2 separate regions of the Homo sapiens genome follow, and region 1 is linked to region 2. The links are contacts of gene promoters, found by promoter capture Hi-C in human tissues and cell types (Jung and others, 2019). All regions are on one chromosome and are shown on one strand. The core of a region is centred on a gene start or on the middle of the fragment in contact, and the rest is flanking DNA. Distances in the headings are between cores, read along the strand shown. Region 1 overlaps STARD9 (StAR related lipid transfer domain containing 9). Region 2 holds the start of VPS39 (VPS39 subunit of HOPS complex).

Evidence for each region. Contacts are between HindIII fragments. The study calls those that stand out against the background at their distance.
Region 1: a contact is called between a fragment that was not itself captured here and the fragment with the promoter of VPS39 in region 2, in 1 of the 25 tissues and cell types used here (lymphoblastoid cells).

What each region holds. Positions count from the first base shown.
Region 1 is chr15:42,648,002-42,655,191 of GRCh38, reverse strand. STARD9 (StAR related lipid transfer domain containing 9) reads right to left here. Exons shown (of 33, transcript NM_020759.3): 8 at 4,107-4,176; 9 at 2,600-2,672. Among named protein-coding and RNA genes, the nearest start is that of STARD9, 76 kb to the right of the region's middle. The HindIII fragment of the contact is 8,421 bases long and covers 1-5,575 here.
Region 2 is chr15:42,204,655-42,211,610 of GRCh38, reverse strand. It overlaps VPS39 (VPS39 subunit of HOPS complex), which reads left to right and starts at 3,307. Exons shown (of 25, transcript NM_015289.5): 1 at 3,307-3,530. The coding sequence starts at 3,458. VPS39-DT (VPS39 divergent transcript) reads right to left here and starts at 3,210. Exons shown (of 3, transcript XR_932181.3): 1 at 2,927-3,210; 2 at 2,694-2,847. It overlaps TMEM87A (transmembrane protein 87A), which reads left to right. Exons shown (of 20, transcript NM_015497.5): 20 at 1-1,164. The HindIII fragment of the contact is 8,677 bases long and covers 1-6,956 here.

The sequences.
Region 1 (7,190 bases), core at 116-2,615, 450 kb before region 2:
TCCTGCCTCAGCCTCCCGAATAGCTGGGATTACAGGTGCCTGCCATCACGCCCAGCTAATTTTTTCTATTTTTAGTAGAGAGGGGTTTCACCATGTTGGCCAGGCTGGTCTCAAACTCCTGACCTCAAGTGATCCGCCTGCCTCGGCCTCCCAAAGTGCTGGGATTACAGGCATGAGCCACTGCGCCTGGCCCAGATTTGTTCTTTTTGCTTAGTCTTGCTTTGGCTATGTGGGCTCTTTTTTGGTTCCATATGAATTTTAGGACTGTCTTTTCTAGTTCTGTGAAGAATGATGGTGGTATTTTGATGGGGATTGCATTGAATTTGTAGACTGCTTTAGGCAGTATGGCCATTTTCACAATACTGATTCTACCCATCCATGAGCATGAGATATGTTTCCATTTGTTTGTGTCATATATGATTTCTTTCAGCGGTGTTTTGTAGTTCTTCTTGTACAGGTCTTTCACCTCCTTGGTTAAGTGTATGCCTAAGTATTTTTTTTTTTCAGCTATTGTAAAAAATGTTGAGTTCTTGATTTGATTCTCAGCTTGTCTGCTGCTGGTGTATAGCACAGCTACTGATTCATGTACATTAATTTTGTATCTTGAAACTTCGCTGAATTCATTTACCAGTTCCAGGAGCTCTTTGGATAAGTCTTTAGGGTTTTCTAGGTATACAATCATGTTGTCAGCGAACAGCAACAGTTTGACTTCCTCTTTACTGATCTGGATGCCCTTTATTTCTTTCTCTTGTCTCATTACTCTAGCTAGGACTTATGGTTACTATTATTATGGTATATCTTTTTCCATCCTTTTACTTTCAACCTGTGTCTGTGATTCTAAGGTGTGTTTCTTATAGACAGCATGTAGTTGGGTCTTGCTTTTATGCAATCTGAAAATTTGTACCTTAGGCAATTCACACTTAATGTATTTAATAATTATTGATGTGCTCAGAACCATCCATGTCTGATTTTTCTTTTTTCTGTGTCTCATATCTCCTTTGTTCCTCTGTTCTTCCTCCACTGCCTTTAACTGTTAGGTATTTTTATTAATATGTACCATTTTAATTTCTGTTGTTTTTTCTGCCCAGAGGAGGCAGAAGAAATGTTGATTTTTAAAATTGTATTTTTGAGCTATTTTCTTAGTACTTGCTCTACAGATTACAATACATATCTTTATTTATGATCTACTTTAAAATAATACTAACTTAATTCCTGTAAAATATAGTAACTCTACTTAAATATATCTCCTTTCATTTCCCTTGTGCTGTTATTTTCATATATGACAATGTACAAAAATGCATTGTTACAATTGTGGTTTTATGTAATCTTATTCTTTTATTGACATTAGGAGAAGAAACGAGAAAGAATGTAGGTTTTTTTTATATTTACTCACACATTTATCATTCCCAGATATTTCACTGTCTCCTATAGATTTAAGATACTTTCTAATATCACTTTCTTTCAGCCTAGAAGATTTCATTTAGTTTTCTTGTCAGGTAAGTCTGCTGGCAATAAATTCTACTTTTTATTTTTCCAATCTGGGAATGTTCTTATTGCCAGTTTTTTATATTATCTCAGCCCCCTGACTTCTAAGGGTTCAATGCTTCTGATGAGAAGTCAGCCATTCATCACGTAATTGTTCTACTGTATAAGTCACTTTTCTCTAGCTGTTTTTAAGATTTTCTCTTTGTCTTTCAACAGTTTAACTATGATGTGTCTAGGTGTGGATCTCTTTGTGTTTATTTTACTTGGAGTCCTTTGAGCTTCTTAGATCTATAAATGATTTTCAACAAATTTAGGAAGTTTTTAGTCATCATTTTATTTTGGGTGTGGTACTTCTCACTTTGTTACATTCCTTTAATCTATTTTCAGACCACAGAAAGGATTTTGTCCAGCTTTATAGTTGCTTTTTGGGGATATGACTTGACCTCCTCAATCCATCACAATGGAAGTGAATCTTCTAATATTTCATTTTAATGCTTATTTTCTTTTCAACCTTTTGTTTTAAATGTCCATACTGATCACACCGATGTGAAAGCGTTTTAAAATGTTAAAAATAAATATAAGCAGAAGATATTTTGATTAGTCTTTATAAAATGCTTCTACCCATTCTAGGTGTATAGCTTAACGGATTGTGTGTAAATCCGGTTTACAATATTAGGTTCTATCAGAGGACCTATAAATATGAGAGTAGGAGGAAAGGAAAAGAAACAGGGCCGGGAACGATGGCTCCCATCTGTAATGCCAGCACTTAGGCAGGCCGAGCCAGGTGGATCATCTGAGGTCAGGAGTTTGAGACCAGTCTGGCCAACATGGTGAAACCCCGTCTTTACTAAAAATTAAAAAATAATTAGCCGGGCATGGTGGCGTCTCCTGTAATCCCAGCTATTTGGGAGGCTGAGGCAGGAGAATTGTTTGAGCCTGGGAGGCAGAGGTTCAGGTGAGCCGAGATCGCGCCACTGCACTCCAGTCTGGGCAACAGACTGAGACCCTGTCTCAAAAACCAACAAACAAAAAAAGAAATAGGAAGGAAGACAAGAAAGTGGTTTAAAGGTACAAGGAGAGGAAGAAATCTCACCAAACATAAGGAGTTACCAACCTGCGTGTAGTGGATCGTGAAAATGGCGTGGGATCTGCTGCTGGCCTCATGAACATGGGTGGCTGCTGTGATTCTGTGTATACAAGGAAAAACTGTTAGGACGAGGATTGTTTACACATGGTGGATTCTTAAGGATCCATACAGAATACAAGAAATGTTAGTGCTGAGGTTCACCGACAAGAATCATAAAACACACATATTTAGTCCAGTATCGTGAAGAGAATAGTCCAAAGAGGGCAGAAGCAGCACTCTAGGTGCTGATATCTGAGCATAAAACGGAGTGTAGCTTCATACTAAACTACACTGAAACTTTTTTTTTTTAAGCAATAGAAGCAAAAATTCAAGTGAAAAGGGAAATGAAGACTAGAGCGTCATCATCCTGGAAGAACATGCCCAAGATAGACCCATTTTATTTTATTCTTTCACTTTATTTTATTTTATTCTTGGAGTCATTTTAATAAGACAAGTGGATGTAGAAAGCTTGCTAGAGAAGATACCTCAAAGACAGAGAAGGTAAGTTTTGATTAAACACAGAATATTAATTCTACAGTGTCAGAAAGATCTTGGAAATGAGATCTTAAATCACATCAATATCATGCTTAAGCCAGGCGGAATTCACAGTCTCCCTTAGAAATCCATTACAGTGTTAACCCTTAAAGTCAGGAGAGGTTTTCCTTTATCTAAGAGCATCTCACTGAGCTCTGTTCTCAGAGGATCTGGAGAATTGAAGAAAAGGGCCAAAATCTAGAGGCTAGTCTCATGATTCAAGCCTGACACTGAAAAATCATGGAGCTCAGGGTACCCTGAAGACCAGAAGTAAGTGTCTCCAGGAGAGTTCCATGAAGCTCAGGAGAATGTTAAATTTAAATTTCTTCCTTTATGTTCAATTAACTTGGTCCTGCTATTAACAGGATAAATAGAAGGCTCTAAAGACCTTTTTACCCCAGAAAAAAAAAGCCTTTTTTAGGGACATTTACTAGTAATATTCTAGGTATTTCATAGTAACTTACAACATGAAATGTTATTACAATTTACAATAGCTTTTAGGGGAATCTACAGCACCTAGTTATTCATAGCAGATTCAAAACAGTCTTTTGAGGGGCTACCTTATAAGTATGCAAAACTAGAAAAAAATGTTTTTATGAACCTTTTACACTATATTCATCCTTATATCTATCAAACCTGAGGAGAGGACAATGCAGGTAAGAACCCTTTCTTCCAAATTTAGAAGCTCTAAACAAAATATAGAGTAACTTCCTTGGGCTTACTGCCTAATATTATTATGTCCAGAACAGATTCCAGCTTCATTACTAGTGAGAAGAGACTAAATCTTAGTCACCACCCCTTACCCTGTGAACACTATTGTTCTGGGAAGAGCCTCCTGGTTGTGAACATCTCTACACACAGAGACAATTTTAAGTGTCATTATACACTCCCCAAAGGGAAATGGGAACACAGGATAGGAGTGTGAGGATAAAAGAATGACAGAAACAAACAAACCTGTTACCTGTTTGCAATTCCCTCCTCCAAGAGTTGGATTACTTGCTTATAATTGGTAACTACATGTTGAGATAAACCTATCGGATTTGTGAAACGGAAAAAAGAAATTAAATGAGATTTTTGGTAAACTTTAACCTTTTCTTGTAAGTCTTTATCATTCCTATTTCATATTGTTTAATAGACAAAAATGAGGGAATCTGGCCAAATTCATTCAGATAATAAATTAAATCAAGAAATATTTATTGGAAACCTCTTGTCAGGTATATGATAGACTCTAGGAATATAGGTCTCTGTCCTCACAGAGATTATGGTCTATAAGTCATATAGACCATATGCTAACAACAACTATAATTCCTTACAGTTCTGCTATATAGGTTATAAGAACTGTTCTCATTTGGCCCTCACAAAGTCCCTGAGGTAGGCCAGTGTTGTTTTCCCCACAAGGTGGCAGACTCGGTTTGGCATACAAAATACACAGTACACTCATCTCTGTCCTCCCACAGTTTACAATCATGGTAAGTTACACTACACAAGACAATATGGCCAAGTGCCACAGGAGTTGGAAAGATGATACATGATGAGGAGATCAGAGGCGTGGTCAGGACAGGTTCCACAGAAGAAGTGAGACTTAAATTTAGCCACTATAGAATGGGGAGGCTTTAGATAGGTGAAGAGGAGCCTACGGGCATGAAAGTAAATCTTCATGGCTGGTTACTGACCAAGTCCCAAAGGCCTTCCCAACTGTTCCAGAGAATCTCTGTATGAGAGATTCAAAAACAAAGTAACTTCATGGGCTTATTGCTAAATACAATTACACCCAAAATAACAAAGTAACATAAATGAAACCAACAAAAATAATAGTCAATAGAAAGCAATCCAAGAAAGACCCAGATACTGAAGCTACCAGGCCGACTTAAAAGTAACCCTGAAGGCTGGGCACTGTGGTTCATGCCTGTAATCCCAGCACTTTGGGAGGCCGAGGCGGGCGGGCCTGAGGTCAGGAGTTTGAGACTAGCCTGGCGAACATGGAGAAACCCTGTCTCTGCTAAAAATGCAAAATTAGCTGGGTGTGTTGGTGCATGCCTGTAATCCCAGCTACTCGGGAGGCTGAGACAGGAGAATCCCTTGAACCTGGGAGGCGGAGGTTGTGGAGAGTCGAGATCGCGCCATTGCACTCCAGCCTCGGCAACAAGAGCGAAACTCCATCTCAAAAAAAAAAAAAAAAAAAAAGGCCAGGCTCGGTGCCTCATGCCTGTAATCCCAGTACTACTTTGGGAGCCCAAGGCAGGTAGATCATGAGGTCAGGAGTTCCAAGACCAGCCTGGCCAAGATGGTGAAACCCCACCTCGACTAAAAATACAAAAAATTAGCTGGACATGGTAGCGGGAGCCTATAGTCCAAGCTACTCAGGAGGCTGGGGCAGGAGAATCACTTGGACCTAGGAGGCAGAGGTTGCAGTGAGCTAAGATCTCACCATTGCACCCCAGCCTGGGCGATAAGAGCAAAACTTCGTTTCAAAAAAAAAAAAAAGTAACTCTGCTTAATATTTTCAAGGAGTTTAAAGACAAGATTGTAAACTTGGAAACTATAATGAAATAATAAAATGGATATCTGAGAAATAATACTGTAAGTGAAAATAAAAACTCAATATAAAGTTTAATAGCAGGTTAGACATAGCTGAAGAAAGAATGAGTGAGCAGGAAGATAGATCAGAAACATACTCAAAATTTAGCACAGAGAGACAAAAGATTAAAAATATGGAGGGAGCCGGGTGCAGTGGCTCACGCCTGTAATCCCAACACTTTGGGAGGCTGAGGCGGGTGGATCATGAGGTCAGGAGTTCAAGACCAGCCTGACCAACGTGGTAAAACCCCGTCTCTCATGAAAATACAAAAATCAGCCGGCTGTGGTGGTGCGCGACTGTAATCCCAGCTACTCGGGAGGCTAAGGCAAGAGAATCGCTTGAACCCAGGAGGTGGAGGTTGCAGTGAGCTGAGATTGCGCCATTGCACTCCAGCCTGGGCAACACAGCGAGGCTCCATCTCAAAGAAAAAAAAATGGAGGCTAGGTGTGCACACCTGTAATCTCAGCTACTTGGGAGGCTGAGGCAGGAGGATCCCTTGAGCCCAGGAGTCCAAAACCAGTCTGGGCAACATTAGCAAGACTTCATGTCTAATAAATAAATTAATTAATTAAATATAGAAGAAATGGTAAGACTCACAGAGTATACAGGCAATAGGCCTTAACATACCTGTAATTAGAGTCCCAAAAGAAGAGGAAAGAATGGGATAGAAGGATTATTATAAGAGGTAATGGTAGTGGAGGGAAGGGGGGAAAAAAGGGAAAGGTAATGGCTAAGAACTTTCCAAAACTGATAAGAAGATACAAAAGCACAATTCAAGAATCCCAGCATGATTTTTTAAAAACCTAAATCTACCCATAAGTAGACCATAATAAACTGTTCAAAGACAAAAGTAAAAATATTGAAAAAATTAGACTAGGAGATGACTTCTCAGCAAAAACAGTGGAAAGCAGAAGAGAATGGTATAATTTTTAATGACTAAAAGAAAATAACCATCAATTTAAAATTCTGTACTCAGTGAACTTTACCTTCAAGAACAAGAAAAGCAGGCTGGGTATGGGGGCTCATGCCTGTAATCCCAGCACTTTGGGAGGCCGAGGCCAGTGGATTACTTTCGGTCAGGAGTTCAAGATCAGCCTGGCCAACATGGTGAAACCCCATCTCTACTAAGAGTACAAAAATTAGCTGGGCACGGTAGCATGTGCCTGTAATCCCAGCTACTCGGGAAGCTGAGGCAGGAGAATTGCTCAAACCCAGGAGGCGGAGGTTGCAGTGAGCCGAGATCGCGCCACTGCACTCTAACCTGGGTGACAGAGCAAGACTCCATCTCAAACAAACAAACAAAAAGCCAAAAGAGAACTTGTCAATAGCAGATCCACACTAGAGGGAAAACAAGATTATTCTTGAAGTAGAAGGCACTCAGAGATAAAAGGTAGGATATTCTTTAAAAATTAAGAGCCCTAAAAATGGCATTTAAGTCAAGAAGGGACAAACTGAGTTCAAGTCTTA
Region 2 (6,956 bases), core at 2,058-4,557:
ATGACATCCTGATCTGTTCCTTGATCTTTGGGCATTGGAGTTGGCGAGAGGTGTCAGAACAAAGAGAACATCTTACTGAAAACAAGTTCATAAGATGAGAAAAATCTACGAGCTTCTTATTTACAACACTGCTGCCCCCTTTCCTCCCAGACTCTGACATGGATGTTCATGCAACTTAAGTGTGTTGTTCCTGAACTTTCTGTAATGTTTCATTTTTTAAATCTGACAAACTAAAAAGTTTAACGTCTTCTAAAAGATTGTCATCAACACCATAATATGTAATCTCCAGGAGCAACTGCCTGTAATTTTTATTTATTTAGGGAGTTACATAGGTGATGGGGGAAATTGTTAACTACCTTTCATTTTCCTGGGAAGTCAAGGTTACATCTTGCAGAGGTTGTTTTGAGAAAAAAGGGCCCTTCTGAGTTAAGGAGCCATAGTTCTATCAATGATCAAAAGAAAAAAAAAAAAAGAGAAACTGTTACAGTATGATTCAGATCATTTAAAAAAGCAAAATCAAGTGCAATTTTGTTTACAAATGGTGTATATTAAAGATTTTTCTATTTCAGATGTACTTTAAAGAGAAATATTAGCTTAACTCTTTTGACATCTGCTATTGTGACACATCCCATTGCTGGCAATGTGGTGCACACTCCGAAACTTTTAACTACTGTTTTGTAAGCCTCCAAGGGTGGCATTGCAGGGTCCTTAGGCAATGTTTTGTTTGCCTTTATGCAGAGAGGTGCTCCAAGTGCTGTGATTGAGCACCGTGCTAGAGGAACTGTAATGCTTCAGAAGTTGTAGCTTATACAAAGGAAACAGGTCCTGCTGGCTTAATTTAAACAGTTATTGCATGAAGTAGCGTGGAGGCCCTGGACTGCTGCTCGTTCTTTAGGATGGACTGTTCTGGTATCTGGTATTGGTTTAGAGACTGTTAATAAGGGACATCACAAGGTGATGGGATTCATTTGAAGCACTCTATTTCTGTTTTAATGGTTTTATCCAATTTTGCCTTCCCAAGATTTTTGTTCTACATAAAAAGTTCATGCCACTTTTTAATATAAAAAAATTTAACAAAATTAATGTATTTTTCTCATTTTTTTCAAACTTTTTCTAAAGACTCTTTCTGTCAAACTCATGAAAAATTTCTTTCTATGGCTTTTATTCTAGATTGTCTTATTTTCTGTTAAAACCAATGACCACATGACCACAATCTTCACTAACTCATACTGCAGTGAAAGTGTTAACCCTTAGGTAGTTTCTCTACAACTCTTTGCTATGGTGATTTTTAAAAAAGTTTCCTAGGAAGTATCTCTGAGGAACAGCAATCTGAAGAACTGACTATATTCTCATGCTAAGTCATTAGCCAAAAGCTGGTGGTATTGTTGCATGCTGCTATTGCATATTAAAACGTAGCAGATGAATAATAGTTGTAATGCAGCAGGATAGTTGGTCAAATTATTTTTTTAGGCTGCTTTGATGTTGACTTGAGACTAGGAAAAAAAAAAGCCCATTGTGTTAAGCGGGAGTGTATAGTTCAAGTTCTATAGCCTGGGCCCTGATAATTCTACTTACAGCTTTCTGTATTACTGGGAATAGATATAGTGTGTCATTTCTTAGGTTCAGAAGAAATTGATAGCTTTGCAGTAATCTGTAAAACAATATAAACCTTAGGGTTTTGGGCCTGAACGAAAAGGTACTAGACCTTCCAGCACAACAGCTGGTAATTCTAAATTTTTAAGAAGGTGATCAGCTTCTATGGTGAAAATCAGCTATAACACAGGATTTGTGTAGCAATTTTCATGTTTTTGACTACTTGAAAGTACTTTTCACTTGATTATCAGAACAGCATTTGGTAAAGATGGGACAAGTATTCCTAATTTACATATGAAGAAACTGATATTGTGTAAAAATAAAATGACCAGGACCAGTTTTTTTGACTTCATATCACAGACTTACCCTTTTTCTTTTACATTTTTGCTTTAAACCCAAATGCTTAATTTTTTGACCTACGATGTTTTCCTAGGGGGAAATGACCAGATATAGATCATTCTTGCAGCCCAAACTTTGTTGTTTTTTAAGTCTTCAAGGGGAATACTAAGGTAACCGCAGACAGTACAGGTCCCAGGTCCTATAGGAGGAAAAGCCATGACACCTTCCTAAAGGAATATTAGGATGTAAGACACAGCTTTGGAAAGTTGAATTGGTAGGAATGTGGTCATCAAATTAAAAGGAGGCTTATTTCACTGACTTCCAAGAGTTAGTGAATCATCTCTTGCCTAAACTCTTGCTACTCAAAATGTGATCCAGGGACCAGCAACATCTGGGAGATTTTTGGTGCTCAACTGAGGGTCTTACTCTGGTCCTACTGAATCAAAAGAGGCATTTTAACAATGTCTCTAGGTGATTTGTATGCACGTTAAATTTGAAAAGCATTGGCCTCAAATGGTGGTTCTCAGGGTAATTTTGCCTCCCAGAGGACATACGGAAAAGAGACATTTTTATACCTCTGTGGGGAAGATAACTGGCATTTGGTGGGTGGAAGTTAGGGATGCTGTTAAACATCTTACATTGTACAGAACATGCCCCCTCCCCCAACAAGAAATTATCCTGTCCTAAATGCCGGTAGTGCTATCGCTGAACAACCCTAACCTAAAATGGTGGTTCTCAAGCTTTTAAGTGCATGGACTCACCTTGGGGTTTATTAAAACATAGGTTGCTGTTCCCTTCGAGTTTCAGATTCAGTAGAACTGGAATGGGCCTGAAACTTTGCATTTCTAACAAGTTCACAGGTGCTGCTGCTACTGCTGTTGTTGCTGGTCTAGAACCACTTTCAGAACCACTGGCCTAGAACAACCATGAAAGCATTAAGGTAAGGTGCTTGTACTAATTGGGATATAATGGTAATACTAAAGCTACCACTTACTGAGAGCTTAGTGGGTGTCAGGTGTTGCTAAGCGCTCACGACACTAGGTCACAGGTATTTACAAAAATTTTGCAGATTAGGAAAGTATGGCATCGAAATATTAAATTTTCTAAATCACAGCTAATTTCCTAATTGGTAGATCTCCGTCTGAGGTCGACGCCAAAGGCCGAGTTTTTAACCATCACGCCCACTGCCTAAAGCAGTTCTAAGATTAAGAGTTTGTTCCTTCTATGGTAAGCCCATGGCTACTCGGGATGGAGTAGCTATGGGTCCAGAGTGACGATGGCAACTCAGCAACAAAACAATTCATTTAGAGTGCACCGGGAGGAAGGGGCGGGACTTCGGCTGCGGAAGAGGCGGGCCTAACTAGCAGGAAGTCCGGGGTTGACGATGGCTGTGTTGTTGAAGGGCCTGTAGCCGGGGGGTTCCTGGCCGGATCCCGGTCTACCCTTAGCCCAGACTCGTTCCGGACCCCAGCCCGGCCCGGAACACTCTGGGCGAGACGGCGGTGGCAACTCTCCCCTTGCCGCCATGCACGACGCTTTCGAGCCAGTGCCGATCCTAGAAAAGCTGCCTCTGCAAATCGACTGTCTGGCTGCCTGGGGTGAGCCGAGGGGCCGCGGGGCCGAGGCGGAGTCAGCACAGGAGCGGTCCGGATCTTTTCTGAGGCCGGGGAAGTGGACAGGCGTCCATCCGTGTGGGCTTCGGTTGGATGCTACACGAGAGGGGCTTAGGATGAGAGAAGGCAGAGAGATGACCACCGGCTATAGACATCGATGTCTGTGGGGCTACTTGGGTGATCCCAGTGATCCAGTCATTTAGGGGAGTTCCCCTTGCTTTTGCTCTCTGTGCAGAGTGGGAGGATGAGCTTTCCTTTTTAGTTGTGCTCAGCTTTGGCCCATTTTGATTCCCACGAAGACTTCATTTTAGAGGGTCAAAGCAGTAAGAAGTTCTCAGCCTGCCAGGGGCTTGAAGTTGTCCAGATGTTTGTGTTGTTTTCTAGATGAAAGTCAACCCTGGTTTTGGGGGCATTGAACAAGTTAACACCATATGCTTTTTTTTCCCCTTAGTGATCATTCGTTCATTTCTCATTCCTGTAGGGAACTCATGTAGTTAGCTAACCTTTGAATCTAGCCAAGCGGTTGATTACCTTATATCCAAAGTGTCCAAGTTACCTAACTGTAGGCGGAAGAGTTTCCAGACTGTCTTGAAACCTAACCCATAAAAACTAGCATAGTCCTTTTGGGATTGACTAGTGCAGAAGGCCGGGACAGACATCTCTTGTGTGCTCTGAAATACAAATGAAGGTTTCAGGGATAACGGTGAACATTGTGCTCTTATCCGTGAGTGACTGGTTTGATACCAGCCGCCAAAGACCAAGGAAATCATTTCTAACTTTCCTCTTAATGTTTAGGTCCTAGAAATCAAGGACCATAAAAAGATGATTCAGATCCCTTAATCAGATCTTATACTGAGCTAGATAGGTAACCATGATGGGCCTTATGGAATCTTGGTGGTGTCTGATACCATGTGCGTCAGCTGTTCACAGTGTCACCGAGTCATCCTTGCAGAGTTCTTGATGACTTCTTCTGTAGGGTTCTTTCACGAAGAATTTTCATGTTAATGTGCACCCTTCCTCCTTTAGCAGCTCTGGGTCTCTTTAAAATCATACCTCCACAGTAAGCAGTTCTAGTCCTTTGGGTTAAGAGGAGAATCCTACTTCCTCCAGACATCTCAAGAAAACCAATTTCTGTCATTAAATGCTCTCATTAAACATTTAAATAGAGGAGGAGAAAAAGTTTTTAAATGAAAGACCTGACACTGCATGAAAGGATTAATTCCCCCATTGCTTCATCAGATATACTTATTAGGTGGCTACACGGGCCATTCTCTTTGCTTGGGACAGTAATACAATGATGAATAAGAAACAGTGCCTGTGCTCCTAGGACACACACTGGGGGACAAATACACGTGAACAGATTATAATACTAGAGACATATGCTGCCTATTATTGCAACATGGATGAGGGGGTACCCAACTCAGCTAAGGACATATGTTTCTGAAAGGGATTAATGCAGCTGTGGCTACACTTGACTTAGCTCGTCAGAATCCTTGACTCTGATCTCCTGTTGGACCATTAGCACATAGTGCTCCTAGACTCTCACCAACTCCACTTTGTCACAGTAAAGATTCCTTGCACCTGTGGTTTTCAGGAACACAGTTTTGAAACAATAGGTAGCTTTTGGCCTTCCTTGATCACCCACCGAACAGGAGAAATGCTCTTTGGTTCCTAAGGTGCTTAGGTACATATTAGGTTACAAGAGGCCATTAACTGCCTCCTGCTTCAAAAGTGCTTTATTTCCAGATTTGAGCAGCAGTAATTATTGCTCTTTCTAGTCATTACCCCTTTTTAACTACATTGTGCCTTTGGATGGAAAGTTCGTCCAGGAACTTCCAGAGGCAGGTCACACAGGGCCAAATAGTATTTGAGGTGTAAATGTCTTAGAGACAACATACTCTGTCTCCTGGGAAATAGAAATCAGGAGAGAACATGATGAGGATGATTTCTTTCTAAACTCCAAAGTTGTATAATCCTGCTGCCTTTTCAGCATCTTCATTTGGATGTCCAGTAGCATAGCCAAAACCGTTCTTGATTCCTCTCCCCTCAAACATGCCTGTCCTCCTGTATCTTACGTCTCAGCAAGTGGCATTTCTATTTACCTCTTTGACTAAAGCCAAAAGCTTTGGAATCGTTCTTGACTTCTTTCATTCTGTTTTACACTGTATCCCATCTATCAGCAAATCTTGTGTGTTCTACCCCTAGAATAAATCTGAAATCCAGTCATTTCTCTCTATCTTGATGATTACTACTCTTGAAGGCACCATCATCTGTCACCTGAATTACTGTAGTAGTCTTCTCATTGATCACCCTATATTTGCCAGTGTGCCATTTTCAGTTTTTTGTCTACCAGGTAGAGTGAAACTTTGAAAACCTAAATCTGATTCCATCCTCTACTCAAAACCCTCTCATGGTATCACATCACAACTAGAATAAGTTCCAAAGTTTTCACCCTGTCTGGCAACATCTGACATGATCAGGCCCTGATTTCTTCCCTGTCTTCTGTGTACTTACCTCTCACTCCTTTCTGGTACCAGTCCCACACAGCCTTCTTTGTTCCATCAATGCACAAAGCACATACCCACCTCAGGGCCTTTACATTTGCTGTTTCCTTGGCCTGGCACTCACTTGCCTTTGTATATATGGTTCATTCCTCATTTCACTCAGTTCTCTGCTGAAATGTCACCCAAATCAGCAAAACCTTCCCTGTGTATCCTATATAAAAGAGATTGCCACATCCACCAATGTGCTGTTTTCTTAGCCTTATCTTCTAATCATGGGTCACCATCTACTGTTATTTTATATATTTAATTATTATTGCCTCTCTCACTCCACATTAGAATATAAGTTCCCTCAGGGCAGTATCTTTGTTTTCTGCATTGCTATATCTGCAGTACCTAAAACATTTCCTGACTCAATGGGTATTCATTAAATATATATTTAATGAATAATGTTAATATGAATAGTAATAGCTTGCAGTTGTTAAATGCTAATCTGTATTAGGCTTTTATAAAATAAGACTCCATTTTACAGAAGAAAGACCTAAGGCTTAGAAAATTTAAGAAATTTTTCCAAGGTCACATGTCCTGTAAATCATGTCTGCTTCTAGAGCCTGGTTCTCAAACTTGAATGTATATTCAAAGCCTGTAAAAAATGCAGACTTCACATGTATATATGAGTATCTGTATGTCTATATATACATACATACCTATATTTTCCAGAGAAACAATGGAAAGATAAGTCAAAAATTACTAAAATGATGCCCATAGCAGAAGGGAGAAGAGAGGATAAAATGGACAATGATAGAAACTAGACTTTTCGTCGTTTTAGCTTTGGAACTACATGAATGTTTCATAAAAACAAATAAAATTTAATTTAATTTTATTTTATTTTATTTTATTTCATTATTAT